2 separate regions of the Homo sapiens genome follow, and region 1 is linked to region 2. Evidence: promoter capture Hi-C in 16 types of primary human blood cells and fetal thymus (Javierre and others, 2016). All regions are on one chromosome and are shown on one strand. The core of a region is centred on a gene start or on the middle of the fragment in contact, and the rest is flanking DNA. Distances in the headings are between cores, read along the strand shown. Region 1 overlaps TLDC2 (TBC/LysM-associated domain containing 2). Region 2 holds the start of RAB5IF (RAB5 interacting factor).

The links. Contacts are between HindIII fragments. The CHiCAGO score rates a contact against its expected background, and 5 or more counts as called.
Region 1: a contact is called between a fragment that was not itself captured here and the fragment with the promoter of RAB5IF in region 2, in 5 of 17 cell types (endothelial precursors, total B cells, total CD4 T cells and 2 more). The highest score is 7.8, in endothelial precursors.

What each region holds. Positions count from the first base shown.
Region 1 is chr20:36,888,688-36,896,134 of GRCh38, forward strand. TLDC2 (TBC/LysM-associated domain containing 2) reads left to right here. Exons shown (of 7, transcript NM_080628.3): 6 at 564-716; 7 at 4,175-5,548. The coding sequence ends at 699. SAMHD1 (SAM and HD domain containing deoxynucleoside triphosphate triphosphohydrolase 1) reads right to left here. Exons shown (of 16, transcript NM_015474.4): 16 at 1,542-4,379. The coding sequence ends at 4,245. Among named protein-coding and RNA genes, the nearest start is that of TLDC2, 16 kb to the left of the region's middle. The HindIII fragment of the contact is 5,127 bases long and covers 1,553-6,679 here.
Region 2 is chr20:36,604,036-36,611,408 of GRCh38, forward strand. RAB5IF (RAB5 interacting factor) reads left to right here and starts at 1,744. Exons shown (of 4, transcript NM_018840.5): 1 at 1,744-2,030; 2 at 3,680-3,783; 3 at 5,566-5,695. The coding sequence starts at 1,917. TGIF2-RAB5IF (TGIF2-RAB5IF readthrough) reads left to right here. Exons shown (of 5, transcript NM_001199535.2): 3 at 3,680-3,783; 4 at 5,566-5,695. RefSeq lists enhancers at 618-667, 1,398-1,537, 2,889-4,088 and silencers at 659-1,058, 1,738-2,047. The HindIII fragment of the contact is 5,705 bases long and covers 1-5,523 here.

The DNA.
Region 1 (7,447 bases), core at 2,866-5,365, 290 kb after region 2:
AGAGCAAGACTCCTATCAAAAAAAAAAAAAAAAAAAAAAAATTGCCATCTTGACCAGGCGCAGTGGCTCACACCTGTAATCCCAGCACTTTGGGAGGCCAAGGCAGGCAGATCGCTTGAGGTCAGGAGTTCAAGACCAGCCTGGCCAACATAGCAAAACCCCATCTCTACTAAACATACAAAAATTAGCCAGGCATAGTGGTGGGCGGCCTGTAATACCAGCTACTAGGGAGGCTGAGGTAGGAAAATTGCTTGAACCCGGGAGGTGGAGGTTGTGGTGAGCCAGGGTCGTGCCACTGCACTCCAGCCTGGGTGACAAAGCAAGACTCCGTTTCAATAAATAAATAAATAAATAAATAAACAAATAAATAAATAAAGCTCTTAACCCCATGGGGAACAATGTGCTGAGTCCCCAATAATTCAGTATAAATTGCTTTAAGGGGCGATAAGACAGGTGAAACTGGGCTGCCGTCCTGGCATGGCCAAGAGCTGATGCTGGTGGCAGAGCCTGGGGGTTTCAGCACACAGGAGTGAGCCGCACCAAGACTGTCCTCTTCTCTCTAGTGGCCGGTTTGGGCTGTGGTTGGATGGAGACTTGTTCCGCGGGGGAAGCTCCCCTTGCCCGACCTTCAACAACGAGGTGCTGGCCCGGCAGGAGCAGTTCTGCATCCAGGAGCTGGAGGCTTGGCTTCTCAGCTGACAGCCCTGCGGCAACAGGTACTCAGCCCTGCTCATGATGCCACCCAGGCCTTCCTGACACACAGCAGCCTGTGCTGTTTGAAACACAGATGGTGAAGGGCCCTAGAGTTGGCCGAGGCTGCTGGCCAGCCTCCTTGTGGCCTGGGGACCCAAGATACAGGTGGGGGCAGGCACTGCTCTTTTGCAGAGGTGACTTTGAAGGATTAAAAGACGCTTACACCTTACTCAAGCAGCACAGAGACCCTAAGCTAACAGGGTCTTAGAAAACTCAGAAAAATCCACATCTCTTCCCCGCTAGTGCCTGCCTCCTGGCAAAGGGAAGATTTTTCACTATGCTGTTCCTCGCCAGCTACTGAACGAGGAAAACCAACCTCATGAACATTATCATTTTAGAGGTTCTACAACTGATTCATGTTTATTGTAGAAAAACCAGAAGACGTTAAAAAAATTAAAATTGCCTAAAATTCAACCCCCCCCAACTCTTAACATTTTCATGTATATCCTTCCAGACAATGTTCCATGAATGTGTGTGTGTGTGTGTGTGTATACTTACAAAAACAGGATTCTACTCTGTATGTGTGGAAATGATTTTAACTTACAGAATATTGTCAAACCTTAGAAACCTGGGCTTGAGCACTGGAACTAATAAATACTGTAGCAGCGTCGTTCCTCCTCTGGCCTGCTGCAGAATGTTGAGGCCTTTTTGTCTGCCACCAGTGCCAGGTGCTTGTGAGTCTGTTATTTAATTTCACAATGAAGGTATGAAAGGAGTAAATGAGTAATATGCATTTTTGGACAAAGAGGTCGAAACCTTTGTGGAACACAACTTTCAAGATGGAGATATATATTCACGAAGCTTTATTGCAGCTGTTTCCCTTACCCAGTTGAAGTGGCCAGTCATTTTAATTTGCAGTTCTATTTACATTCCCAAGGTAACCACGTTCAGTAACTCTCTAGAGGCTAAGCTGTTAAAATTTCCATTTTTATACAAATAGCAAAGATATTTCTTTCTCTTTCTTTCTTTCTTTCTTTCTTTTCTTTCTCTCTTTCCTTCCTTCCTTCCCTCCTTCCTTCCTTCCTTTCTTTCTTTTTGTTTGAGACAGAGTTTCGCTCTTGACCCCGAGGCTGGAGTGCAGTGGCCTGATCTTGGCTCACTGCAACCTCTGCCTCCCGGATTCAAGCGATTCTCCTGCCTCAGCCTCCCGAGTAGCTGGGATTACAAGCACACACCACCACGCCCGGCTAATTTCACCCGGCTAATTTTTGTATTTTTAGTAGAGACTGGGTTTCGCCATGCTAGCCAGGCTGGTCTCAACTCTTTACCTCAAGTGATCCGCCCACCTTGGCCTCCCAAAGTGCTGGGATTACAGGCATGACCACCTCGCCTGGCCAAGAAAAATGTAACCTTGTAAATAGCACAGCGTTCTCATAATGGAAACAGTTGCAAAGAACATAAAGTACAGCTGCGTTACATGTAACAAAAGATGCAAACAAAATAGATTCAAGTTGTTTTGCAGACAGCACAATGATACAATATTAGGACTACAGAATCTCAGAGTAAACCACAATGATTTAAAGGTAAGATACACAGAAATAAAATGATTTTAACAGAAAAATATGACATTCCTGACCTTAGGTCTGGGCACATGATGTCTGACCCCTATAGAGGCACCTTGGCTAAAATGGGAATGACCTAGTGCCATGGCTGACCTCACTTGTGCGTTGCTGAGCCCATATGTGAACAAATCCCCTTGATACAGCACCATGGTAGGCATGAGAGGAGAAGTGTTTTAACTATTCTCTTATGAATTGTAACCAACCCTTATTATCTACTGATGGATGGACAGGGGGTGGGGTGATCATACAGGATGGCAGACATTCCAAGTACTCTTCACCCCAGTGTGGACGGAACAGAATCTGGCTACACGGTGGCCAGTGATGGACTGCTGGGAAATCTGCTGGCCTGTGGTCTGAGTTCCCCTACTTGCTCAGGCTGCCCCTCACTCCCAGTGTGCCAGGGAGGCTTAGTCCGGGGAGCATCAGAGCAGAAGACATTCGGGGCTCATGGCTCCCATCCCCACTGGCCTGTATCTTCAGCACCCTCTGGCCACCACCAGCTTTGGCTCTAACTGCAGACTTTGTTCTTGGTGAATTGCTATAGAACTGGGAATGAGGTGTGCCCTGGGCACAGGGGCACTGCCCCACCAAGGTGGTGCCCACTCCACTGCTGGGAAAACGAAGTTACCTAGCGGAGCCTGGAGCCCACTGGGTGGTCACTAATTTCAGCACAGGCAGTGCAGTGTTTGTGCTTTTTTTTTTGGAGATGGAGTCTCACTCTGTCACCCAGGCTGGAGTGCAATGGCGTGATCTAGGCTCACTGCAACCTCCGCCTCCCAGGTTCGAGCAATCCTCCTGCCTCAGCCTCCCAAGTAGCTGGGACTACAGGCACACGCCGCCACGCCTGGCTAGTGTTTGCTCTTAAATACACAAAATGCACTGAACCAGCAAAAACAAAGTCCCAGGTCTGAGGAGCTCTGAGGATGATGCCTGTGATGGCCTCTGGCCAGCTCTCCAGGATACTGAGAGAGCAGGTCAGGGGAGGCCTTCTCCAGGCTGGGCAGTGGGAAGGCCCTCTGGACCGGGGGAGTGAGTATTCAGGGGACAAAGGCACTACCCGGGTCTGGAGCCGCCACGGAGCCAGGGCACAGCCTAGTTTGGGGGATTCCTCTGTCACTGGGGTAGGATCTCCCAACAAGAGGCGGCTTTATGTTCCACTCACGAAGAGGCCAGAGCTCTCAGATCTTCCCCAAAACCTAATCAGGCCTCTCACCAGCGTGTTGGAGGCCACTCCTGGCCATCATCTCCAACTCTTTACCCCAACCTGGCACCTTGTAGGGGGCTAGAAGGGTGAGGGGAGGTGTCTTTCACTTATGCTTAGGTCACTCTTAGAGGACTATCCTCAAACTTGAGGTGACAGGGAACTCTTCACGGGGGCAGGATTTGATGTTTTGTTTTTAGCCATGTTTGTCAATGACAATGTCAATTTCTAGTTCCAATTTGTACCCTTGTCTCATTTCTACATTAAAAACAAAAAACAATCATCTGTCATAAAAGTTCAGAGTAAGCTGGGTGTGGTGGCACATGACTTTAGTCCCAGCTACTTGGGGGGCTGAGGCAGGAGGGTCGCTTGAGCCCAGGAAAGTTCGAGTCCAAGCTGGGCAACAGAGCAAAACCTTGTCTCTTAAAAAAGAAAAAAAATAGAGTTCAGAATAGATAAAAGAGTTGTTATTCTAAGAAAATAGACTACTGAAGGAGAAAGGCTTTAATAATATTAAAAATAGGCAAGGTAATGCTTTTCATAGTATAGTAAGATTTGCCTAATACCATCTTATTTCTTTGATTAAAAGTTACTTAGCTTCAGCATGCGTGTACATTCAAAATACAAAATTAAAGCATGAGTTGTCATTAATTTGCAGAATTCTATGATTGAAGCCTCTAAATGAATTGTGCAGGAGAGGGAGTTTGTAAACAACTGACTACAGACATTCACATTGGGTCATCTTTAAAAAGCTGGACTCTGCTTTTGGATGCTTCTCGGAGGCGAGTTGGATTTTGGACTGAAGTACTGTCGTTCCATTCCTTTTTTTGAGGTGTTATGAGTGGGGCTATAACATCGCCATCCTATTAGGAAGAGAGAGAAAAACAGGCAATAGAGAAAAGCCAGTTTCCATCATCTTATTTCTGAGTGAAAGTCTCAAGTGCGCACATCCTCATCTTGCATATAGATTGCTTCTAGCTGTCCTCAATCCAGGGAAACTCCAAATTACATATGCCCTGTGCTTGGGGCAAATTAGAAACACTACAGTCTTACGCAGGAAGAGCCTTCATGAAAACAGCCACTGGCCTCTGCAGAGATGACTGGGAGCAGCATACCACTGCCCACCTCTATGGCCTCCTTCACACACCTTCACGGAGCACAAACTCTGTCCTGTTTTCCCAGGAGAAAGACGGGATGCACTGAACCCCTAGCTTCTCTCTCGCCTGGTCCCCTCTGCAATAAAAGGCCCAGGTCTACAAGATGGCAAAGAAGGGGAGGAAGAACAGTATGTACCTGCAGAATTTAAATTTTTCTCTGCATCAAAGCTCTAACGTTGGTCCCATCAGCATAGGCTCCAGCCAAAGAAGCTCCTCCACCCAAAATAAGGGAGAGATCCAAAGGGAGGCGATACAATGACGTGAAACCATAGAGGTAAGAAGCAAGGCCTCCTAATACTTGACTCTATGCTAAACTGTTCTGAACTTGTGGGTAGATCTTCTTTGGTTACAAGATGATGCACGATCTTGGAGAGCCTCTGTTGTACCAGGAATACAATGCTGGTGGGAGGATTCGTGCTCCTCATCTGCTTATTTGCTCTCAGATCCATTCTTCACTCTTCCTCTCCCTACTCTGTCTCACAGGAGCTACTCCGGTAAATTACATTTCTCAGCTCCCATGCCTGTTGGTTTCCAGTTAGATTTGGTCAGTGGGAGGCTCTGGTGGGAGACTGGAGGTGAGAAGAGGGCAGAGAAGTCAGGTTTTTTCTCTCCCTACCTCCTCTGGCACGAGCGGCAGTGGCAGTGACTATTCTGTGGTTCTAGCTTTTGCAGGTGGCCCCAGCTCCTGGACTCCCACCTGCTCCCTTGGTCTCTCCTATCCTAGAGGTGGTAGCAGCTTCCTGCTGTTGAATCACTGTCCTCTATGCTCATTTAGCTCTGCCAAAACTTTTGTATCTCACCCCCATGTTAAATTTTTTCTGTTGAACTACACTGGATCTGACTTGATAGAACTATTAAAAATAGTTTTTAAAAAATGTGTTATTATTTTTTTTTGAGATGGAATTTTGCTCTGTCACCCATGCTGGAGTGCAGTGGCACAATTTTAGCTCACTGCAACCTCCACCTCCAGGGTTCAAGCGATTCTCCCGCCTCAGCCTCCCAAGTAGCTGGGATTATAGGTGTGCATCACCATGGCTAATTTTTGTATTTTTAGTAGAGATGGGGTTTCACTATGTTGGCCAGGATGGTCTCGAACTCCTGACCTCAGTAAAGGCAATCATTTAGGCCAGGCGTGGTGGTTCATGCCTGTAATCCCAACACTTTGGGAGGCCAAAGCAGGTGGATCACTTGAGGTCGGGAGTTCAAGACCAGCCTGGGCAACATGGTGAGACCCCGTCTTTACTAAAAATACAAAAATTAGCCGGGCATGGTGGCACGTGCCTGTAGTCCCAGCTACTCAGGAGGCGGAGGCAGGAGAATCACTTCAACCCGGGAGGTGGAGGTTGCAGTGAGCTGAAACTGTGCCACTGCACTCCAGCCTGGGCAACAGAGCAAGACTCTGTCTCAAAAAAAAGTCATCCTATTGTCATGATACTTGTACTTAAAGGCCTATCTCAAAATCAACAGTATTTATTTGTCTTTAAACTCATCTCTATTTCTACCCAGCTTGCTTTCTTTCTTTCTTTTTTTGAGACAGCATCTTGCTCTATCAACCAGGCTGGAGTGTAGTGGTGTGATCATAGCTCATTGCAGCCTCAGACTCCTAGGCTCAAGCAATCCTCCCACCTCAACCTCCCAAAGTGCTAGGATTACAGATATGAGCCACCATGCCTAGCATATAGCCAACTTTTTAATTTCTACTCATTCTACTTTCAGTTCTAGTGAATTTTATAAATGTAAACAAATACGTCACTTTCCTGCTTAAAACCCTTCAGTGTCAATGCTCCCTACTGCTCTTGGCTGACAGGACTTTGATAAAGCCCCAGACACCTCCACACTCTATGCTCCTTCCTGAAATGCATCATGTTCTTTCTCATCTTCCGACCTAACCCTGTGGTGTCTATGCCTCAACCCCTCCCCTACCACCACCTCCTGCTGCCAGCCCTTAACCCAGACAACTCCTCACTCAACCTTCAGGTCTCAGTTTATAAGCCCTTCTTTAAATAAGCTTTTCCTGACCAACCAAGACCAGCTAAATCCTCCTTGTTTTTCCTCTTCTAAGACTGTGTACTCACCCTATACCCAAAGTACTTACCATGCTCCTATAATTATTAACTTATGGAGAAAAATTAATAATAATTATTATTATCCCCAACTAGATTATTATCCCCAACCTGAATGGGATCCATGGGTTATTAGGAACTGTCTATCTTAGGTACTGTTCCAGGTACCTAACACAGGGCATGGCAAAATACTCACTCCGTGAGTGAATGTACCAAATTTATAGTAGTTATCACGACACAGCCAAACTTTAATAGCCTCTCTTGACTCTCTATTTCCAGACTCTCCAAGTTCCAGTCTATCTGCAGCTAGAGTTTTCAGTGATTTAGTTTCAGTGATTTAGTTTCACAGTACCTAGGACAGACATACAGTTGGCCCTCTGCATCCATGGGCAGATTCAACCAACTGTAGATAGAAAATATGAAGGGGGAAAAATGGATGGCTGTGTCTATACTAAGCATGTACAGAATTTCTTCTTGTCATGATTCCCTAAACAATACAGTATTAACAACTATTTACATAGATTTACATTGTAGTAGGTTTTATAAGTAATCTAGAGATATTTAAAGTATAAAGGAGGATATGTATAGGTCATATGCAAACACTATACCATTTTATATAAGGGACTTGAGCATCTGTGGATTTTTCTTTTCTTTTCTTTTCTTTTTGAGACAGAGTCTCGCTCTGTCACCCAGGCTGGAGTGCAGTCGCCG
Region 2 (7,373 bases), core at 494-2,993:
AATCTACTGAAACAATGTCAGGGTGGGCTTGGGGTGGAAAACAGCAGCTATAGTATTCTGGAAAAGCTCTCTAGGAGGTTTTTTGTTTGTTTTTTGTTTTGTTTTTGAGACCAAGTCTTGCTCTGTTGCCCAGGCTGGAGTGCAATGGCGCGATCTTGGCTCACTGCAACCTCCACCTCCCAGGTTCAAACAATTCTCATGCCTCGAGCCTCCTGAGAAGCTGGGATTACAGGTCCCCACCACCACGCCCGGCTAATTTTTTTTGCATTTTTAGTAGAGACGGGCTTTCAACCATGTTGGCCAGGCTGGTCTCGAACTCCTGACCTCAAGTGATCCACCGACCTCGGCCTTCCAAAGTGCTGGGATTATGGGAGTGAGCCACTGCGCCTGGCCTCCCTAGGGAGGTTCTATTACTCCTGAAAAGTGAAGAATTACAGGTGAATGTTGATAGGTATGCAAAAGATACTCTGACCTGTTTAAAAAAAAAAAAGATACTCTCAGCTTTAAAGTTTAACGGTTAAGAGCACAGATTCTGGAGTCAGACACACCCAGGTACCAGATACATTACTTGTCTTTATAAATCCACTGTCCAGAGGCCGGGTGAGGTGGCTCACGCCTGTAATCCTAGCACTTTGGGAGGCCAAGATGGGCGGATTGCCTGAGCTCAGGAGTTCGAGACCAGCCTGGGCAACATAGTGAAACCCCCGTCTCTACTAAAATACAAAAAAAACTAGTGGAGCGTGGTAGTGGGCGCCTGTGATCCCAGCTACGTGGGAGGCTGAGGCACGAGAATCGCTTGAACCCGGGAGGTGGAGGTTGCAGTGAGCAGAGACCGTGCCGTCTCAAAAAAAAAAAAAAAAAAAAATCCACTGTCCAGAAGGGATGTGCCTTGGTCTCTGGACTTACCAGCACAGTGAGCCTGGCACCACCTGGAGGGCCACCGGAAGGAGCCCCATCCCCAGGGGTTCTGAGTCAGTAGGCGTGGAATGGGGGCCGAGAACCTGCGCCTCTACCCAGTTCCCAGGCGATACGGCCGCTGCTGATCCGGAAGCTCACTTTGTGAACCACTGACGCAGCACATGGTGAGGACGCTGTATGTGAACACTCAGATATCCTGATACCTAACCCAATCCTTGTATTTGCCGCCCAGGAGTCCCCGGTTGGGTCCACCTTGCTATACGGCCTCAGAATCTCATTTCCTCTTTTGGGGTCTCAGGGCTCTCGTGTGCCAAAAGAGGGTGCTGGGCAAGATGAAATGGTTAGTTATTACAGAAGAGTTAACATCTTCAACAAGGCCCTACAGAACTTGCAGGGTTAGGGGAGAAAATAAGCGGGCTAAATCCTGTGGGGCAGCTTGGAGCTACCCTGGAGCAAGGTCTGGGCTCAGCAGGCGAGTAGGTCGCAAGGAAAGGTAGAGCCGCTCCTGCCCCACTCGCTGCTCGAGGGGCAGCTGTGGCCGACTGGGCGACGCTGACGTCCAGCCTCGGTTTTCCCCTACCTCCTCGGTCTCCACAGCGCCTCCTGGCGCCCATGTCACCGTTCTACCAAGATTGTCCCTCCCCTCACACCTTACCGCGAGCCCGGCGGATGCTGACGTCATTTCCGCCACGAGTAGCGCGCTTGCGCCAAGGCGCCGGTCGCTGTTTCACTCGGATGGCTTCGCGGTCGCCGATTGGCTGCGTGAGCACGTCGGCGGGAGGGCGCGCGACACTGCACCGCCCCTCCCTTCGCGGCGCCTGCTCTGTAGAGCCGGCGGAACCGGGTAGCTTGGCCAGGTTGTGAGGAACCGCAGCGCGCCGCAGGACCGGGCCGCTGAGCCTGCAGCCGCCCCGCGCCGTGACCTGCGACCCTAGACCCCGACTCCCTTTGGCTCAGCCCGCGCGCCCCAGGCCCGGCCCGGGCGGCGCGACGGGAGGATGAGCGGCGGGCGGCGGAAGGAGGAGCCGCCTCAGCCGCAGCTGGCCAACGGGGCCCTCAAAGTCTCCGTCTGGAGTAAGGTGCTGCGGAGCGACGCGGCCTGGGAGGATAAGGTACGGTGGAGTCTGAACAGGGCGCGGGTGCGAGGAGTCGGCTGGGACTCGGGGAACGGAAGACTGGCGCGGGCCTGCCCTCGTCCTCGTTCCGGCACAATCGAGTAGGGCAGTGGGGCGGGTGGCCCAAGGGTGTCAGAGCAAACTTGGCGGGCACTGGGCGGACAGCTGGGCTTGGAGCTCCCCGAAGGGTGGCCTAAGGATGAAGCCCCCTAGTTATGCGGAATTGGCGAGGAGCGGGGAGAGGCGTTGTCATTCGCGGGCAGGGTTTGTGCCTGAACTGGGAAAGGGAGCTGAATTCGATTCGGCCTCCGCCTTTTATGTGCAGTAGGGTTTTGAGTAGGTTACTTGTTTCTTTCGAATTAAGTAGCACAAACATTAACAGTAACAGACTTCTGCTGAGAATGCTTTCTACGTGCCAGGTGCTCTGCAAGCGGAATCTCGTTTAACTCAGAATAACTCTGAAGTGGGGTACTGTGGTACATTAAAGCCTTTTGCACATAGTGAGGCTCGCTAATCTTGAGCTGCTGTTGCTTGTTGAATGTAAAGGACCGAATACTTTGATAAGCATGAGTCAAGAGGGGAGACTGAGACCACCCGCTGGGTGAGTGTGAGGTGTGGGGGTGGAGAAACGCCACCAGATATGTGCGAGAATTGGTTGGGACTTCAGAACGTTCTTACTCGTCCCATTCGGAGGATGCTTCGTAACTCTGCTCCATGATCTGGAAGGGGCCATCACAAACAGCTTGATTCCAGGTAGCTTGAAAAGCGTATTATATTTGCAGTCATTTCTTGGTTTTCTGGGCTGCCGAAGTGGATTTTCCTTCCTGAAGTTCCTGTAAAGGGGGATGGGAGGCACTTCCTGAAGGTGCCCTTGTTCTGCCCCCAGCCCTGCCCAGCTCTTGCAAAACCTGCAGTCTCTAATCTGCTGTGTCATTTCTTTCTTTTCTTGTATAAGGACTGGTTTCTGGAATCTAGGGCAGATCAGAAACCTGAGTCGTCTGTGTTCTTCCATTAAACTTAAATATAGTGGCACCTGCCTCCAGCATTTATGGTTCTAATCCGTATGTGCGGCCAGTAGCACAATTATTATCACAGTCATTTCATTACAGGCCATATTATATATGCACCTCTAGAATTTTGATTTAGAGCACAGATTCTGGAAGTGATCGCTTAATGATGTCTAAATGTATCTTTTTTTTTTTTTTTTTTTGAGACGGAGTTTCACTCTTGTTGCCCTGCAACCTCCACCTCCCAGGTTCAAGCAATTCTCTTGCCTCAGCCTCCCAAGTAGCTGGGATTAAAGGCGCCCGCCACAACACCCGGCTAATTTTTTGTATTTTTAGTAGAGACAGGGTTTCACCATGTTGGCCGGGCTGGTCTTGAACTCCTGACATCAGGTGATCCACCCGCCTCGGCCTCCCAAAGTGCTGGGATTACAGGCTTCAGCCACCACGCCCAGCCCCTAAATGTATCATTTCTACCACATTTTAGTATAAGTAAGAGGTGAAACAGGAAGCACATACTGTTGCCTTTGGGGGGAAACAAATTTCCTGGATATGTTTAGCAGAAAGGTTTAATATTCTCCCCTTTTGCTGTCTTGTGGCACCCACTCCAGATAATTCTTGCATTTTCTGTCTTTTCTACAGGATGAATTTTTAGATGTGATCTACTGGTTCCGACAGATCATTGCTGTGGTCCTGGGTGTCATTTGGGGAGTTTTGCCATTACGAGGGTTCTTGGGAATAGCAGGGTAAGTCTTGGGTATCTTATATTTTCATGGTATCATTTCTTTTTAAATAGAGGCTTTTTTTCCTGTTACAGGAAAGGCCATTGCTGCTCTGGAGCTGTGTGTGTGTGTGATGACTAAAGCAAAGAAGCAGCCCTACAGTGGCACTCCTGGGTCTGGTGCACCACTCCTCAGGAGCATCTCAGGTCAGGCAGGTTACCTTCCTGCCTTCCTGAAGGCTGGGCCAGTCCATTCATTCATGGGTCTAAAGTGACCTCATGCAAGAGGCTATGACTACTTGTTCGTGGCATGCACTCTAGTTCTGCTGTGACCTTTGTACCTGTGCGAGTTTGGGAAGTAGGAACTTCTGTATTTGACGACCATTTCCCTTGTTCCTGGCACAGTGCTTAATGTCCTAAACCTTGGCTTTGGTAGAAGTTATTTCAGGTCCCTCCATTTTGTTTTTTTGAGATAGGGCCGCACTTTGTTGCCCAGGTGGGAGCACACTGGCACCATCACAGCTGACTGCAGCCTCGACCTCCTGGACTCAAATGATTTTCCTGCCTCAGCCTCCTAAGTAGCTGGAACTACAGGTGTGAGCCACCACACCTGGCTAATTTTTAAAAATTTTGTAGAGACAAGGTTTCTCTACATTTCCCAGGCTGGTCTTGAACTCCTGGGCTCAAGTGATCCTCCTTTCTTGGCCTCTCAAAGTGTTGGTATTATAGGCATGAGTCAGCAGGTCTGGCATCGGTCTCATTCTTTTTTTTTTTTTTTTTTTTTTTTAAAGACAGAGTCTTTCTCTGTCGCCCAGGCAGGCGTGTACTGGCGTGATCTCGGCTCACTGCAACCTCTACCTCTCAGGTTCAAGCAATTCTTCTGCCTCAGACTCCCAAGTAGCTGGGACTACAGGTGTCTGCCCCCATGCCCGGCTTATTTTTTGTATTTTTAGTAGCGACGGGGTTTCGCCATGTTGGCCAGGTTGGTCTTGAATTCCTGACCTCAGGTGATCCGCCTGTCTTGGCCTCCCAAAGTGCTGGGATTATAGGCATGAGCCACCATGCCCGGCTCATTGCTGTTCCTAGCCCCCTAATTGATGGTGAGCTGAGGGCAGGAACAGTCATCTTTACGTTTGCATCCCGTAGCAATAACAGACAGTGGATATCCAGAAATGGTCTCCCACTGGGAGTTATACAGGGGGTATACTGTTGCTTGCTCAACTAGGCTACGAAGCAGCAGCTTCACATGTTTTTCTCCCATAGCCACACCCTAGCTGGAGCTACCTGGAGGCCCATGTCAGGTCCCGCTTGGGATGGCTTATCAGCCATTCTGTTACTTCAAGGGGCTTTGGAGAACTATATTACACACACACACACACACACACACACACACACACACACGCACACACGCACACACGCACACACGCACACACACACACACACACACACACACACACACACACTATATATAGAGTTTCGCTGTTGCCCAGGCTGTAGTGCAGTGGAACAATTTCGGCTCACTGCAACCTCTCCGCCTCTGGGTTCAAGCAGTTCTCCTGCCTCCACCTCCTGAGCAGCTGGGATTACAGGCGCCCACCACAATGCCCTGCTAGTTTTTGTATTTTTAGTGGAGATGGGGTTTCACCATGTTGGCTAGGCTGGTCTTGAACTCCTGACCGCAAGTGATCCGCCCACCTCAGCCTCCCAAAGTGCTGGGATTACAGGTGTGAGCCACCACACCCGGCCCCGAGTTCTGAGTCTTCTAAGCTTTCAATTTATGTTTGGTACTTGTTCTCTGTTGCTCCAGATTCTGCCTGATCAATGCAGGAGTCCTGTACCTCTACTTCAGCAATTACCTACAGATTGATGAGGAAGAATATGGTGGCACGTGGGAGCTCACGAAGGAAGGGTTTATGACCTCTTTTGCCTTGTTCATGGTATGTGTAGCTGATAGTTTTACAACAGGTACTGTTCATTTCATGAGGTGTCACTCACAGGAGGGGACCCCACTGATTGAGTTACACTGTGTGAGCAGGGTGCTATTTTTCTAAAGGCTTCTGAGGCTCAGGGCCATGGCCTGTGTTGAGCCACATCCCAGAAGATGTGGTCTGATATACTGTACAGTCCCCTGTAATGTGTAAATCCAGGGCCCATCGTCAGCTTCTACATCTGATTCTCAAGCCTGGCTAGATATTAGAAACTAGGAGGGCTGAGCATGGTGGCTCACGCCTGTAATCCCAGCATTTTGGGAGGGCAAGGCAGGAGGATCACCTGAGGTCAGGAGTTCAAGACCAGCCTGGCCAGCGTGGTGAAATCCCATCTCTACTAAAAATACAAAAAATTAGTTGGGTGTAGTGGCGGGCGCCTGTAATCCCAGCTACTCCGGAGGCCGAGGCATGAGAATCGCTTGAACCCGGGAGGCGGAGGTTGCAGTGAGCCAAGATCGCGCCATCGCATTCTAGCCTGGGCAACAAGAGGGAAACTCCATCTCAAAAAGGAAACTAGGAAATATTTTTCATAATAGCTAAAAAGTACAAACAGTCCAAATGACCATCACTTGATGAATGGATAAGATACTATGTATCCATACAGTAGAATGTTATTTGGCCTTAAAAAGGAATGAAGTGGCCGGGCGCGGTCGCTCACACCTGTAATCCCAGCACTTTGGGAGGCCGAGGCGGGCAGATCACAAGGTCAGGAGATCAAGACCATCTTGGCTAACATGGTAAAACCCTGTCTCTACTTAAAAAAATTAGCTGGGCATGGTGGCGGGCGCCTGTAGTCCCAGCTACTTGGGAGGCTGAGGCAGGAAAATGGTGTGAACCTGGGAGGCAGAGCTTGCAGTGTGCCGAGATCGCGCCACTGCACTCCATTCCAGCCTGGGCAACAGAGCGAGACTCCGTCTCAAAAAAAAAAAAAAAATGAAGTCCTGATACATGCTATATAACATGGATGAACCTTAAAACATCATACTAAGTGGAAGAATCCAGACACAAAAGACCATGTGTTGTGTAATTCCATATGCAAAATCTCCACAGTGAGCAAAGCCATAGAGGCAAAAAGTAGATTAGTGGTTGCCAGTGGCTGGGAGGAGGGGATGGAGAGTAGCTGATAAAGGAAACAGGCTCTTTTTGGAGTAATGTTTTGGAATCAGTGGTGATGTTTGCACAACTGTTCCTATACAGAAAGCCTCTCAACTGTACGCTTTATTTTTTTGACACAGGCTCACCATTTCACCCAGGCTGTAGTGCAGTGGCGCAGTCTTGGCTCACTGCAGCCTCTGCCTCCCATGCTCAAGTGATCCTCCCACCTCAGCCTCCCGAGTAGTTGGGACTACAGGTGTGAGCCACCATGCCCGGATATTTTTTGTATTTTTAGTAGAAATGGGGTTTCATCATGTTGGCCAGGCTGGTCTTGGAACTCCTGACCTCAGGTGATCTGCCTGCTTCCGCCTCCCAAAGTACTGGGATTACAGGTGTGAGCCACTGCACCTGGCCCATTTTTTTTTAAATTATACTCATGGCCTGGCATGGTGGCTCATGCCTGTAATTATAGCACTTTAGGAGGCTGAGACAGGCAGACTGCTTGAGTCCAGGAGTTCGAGACCAGCTTGGG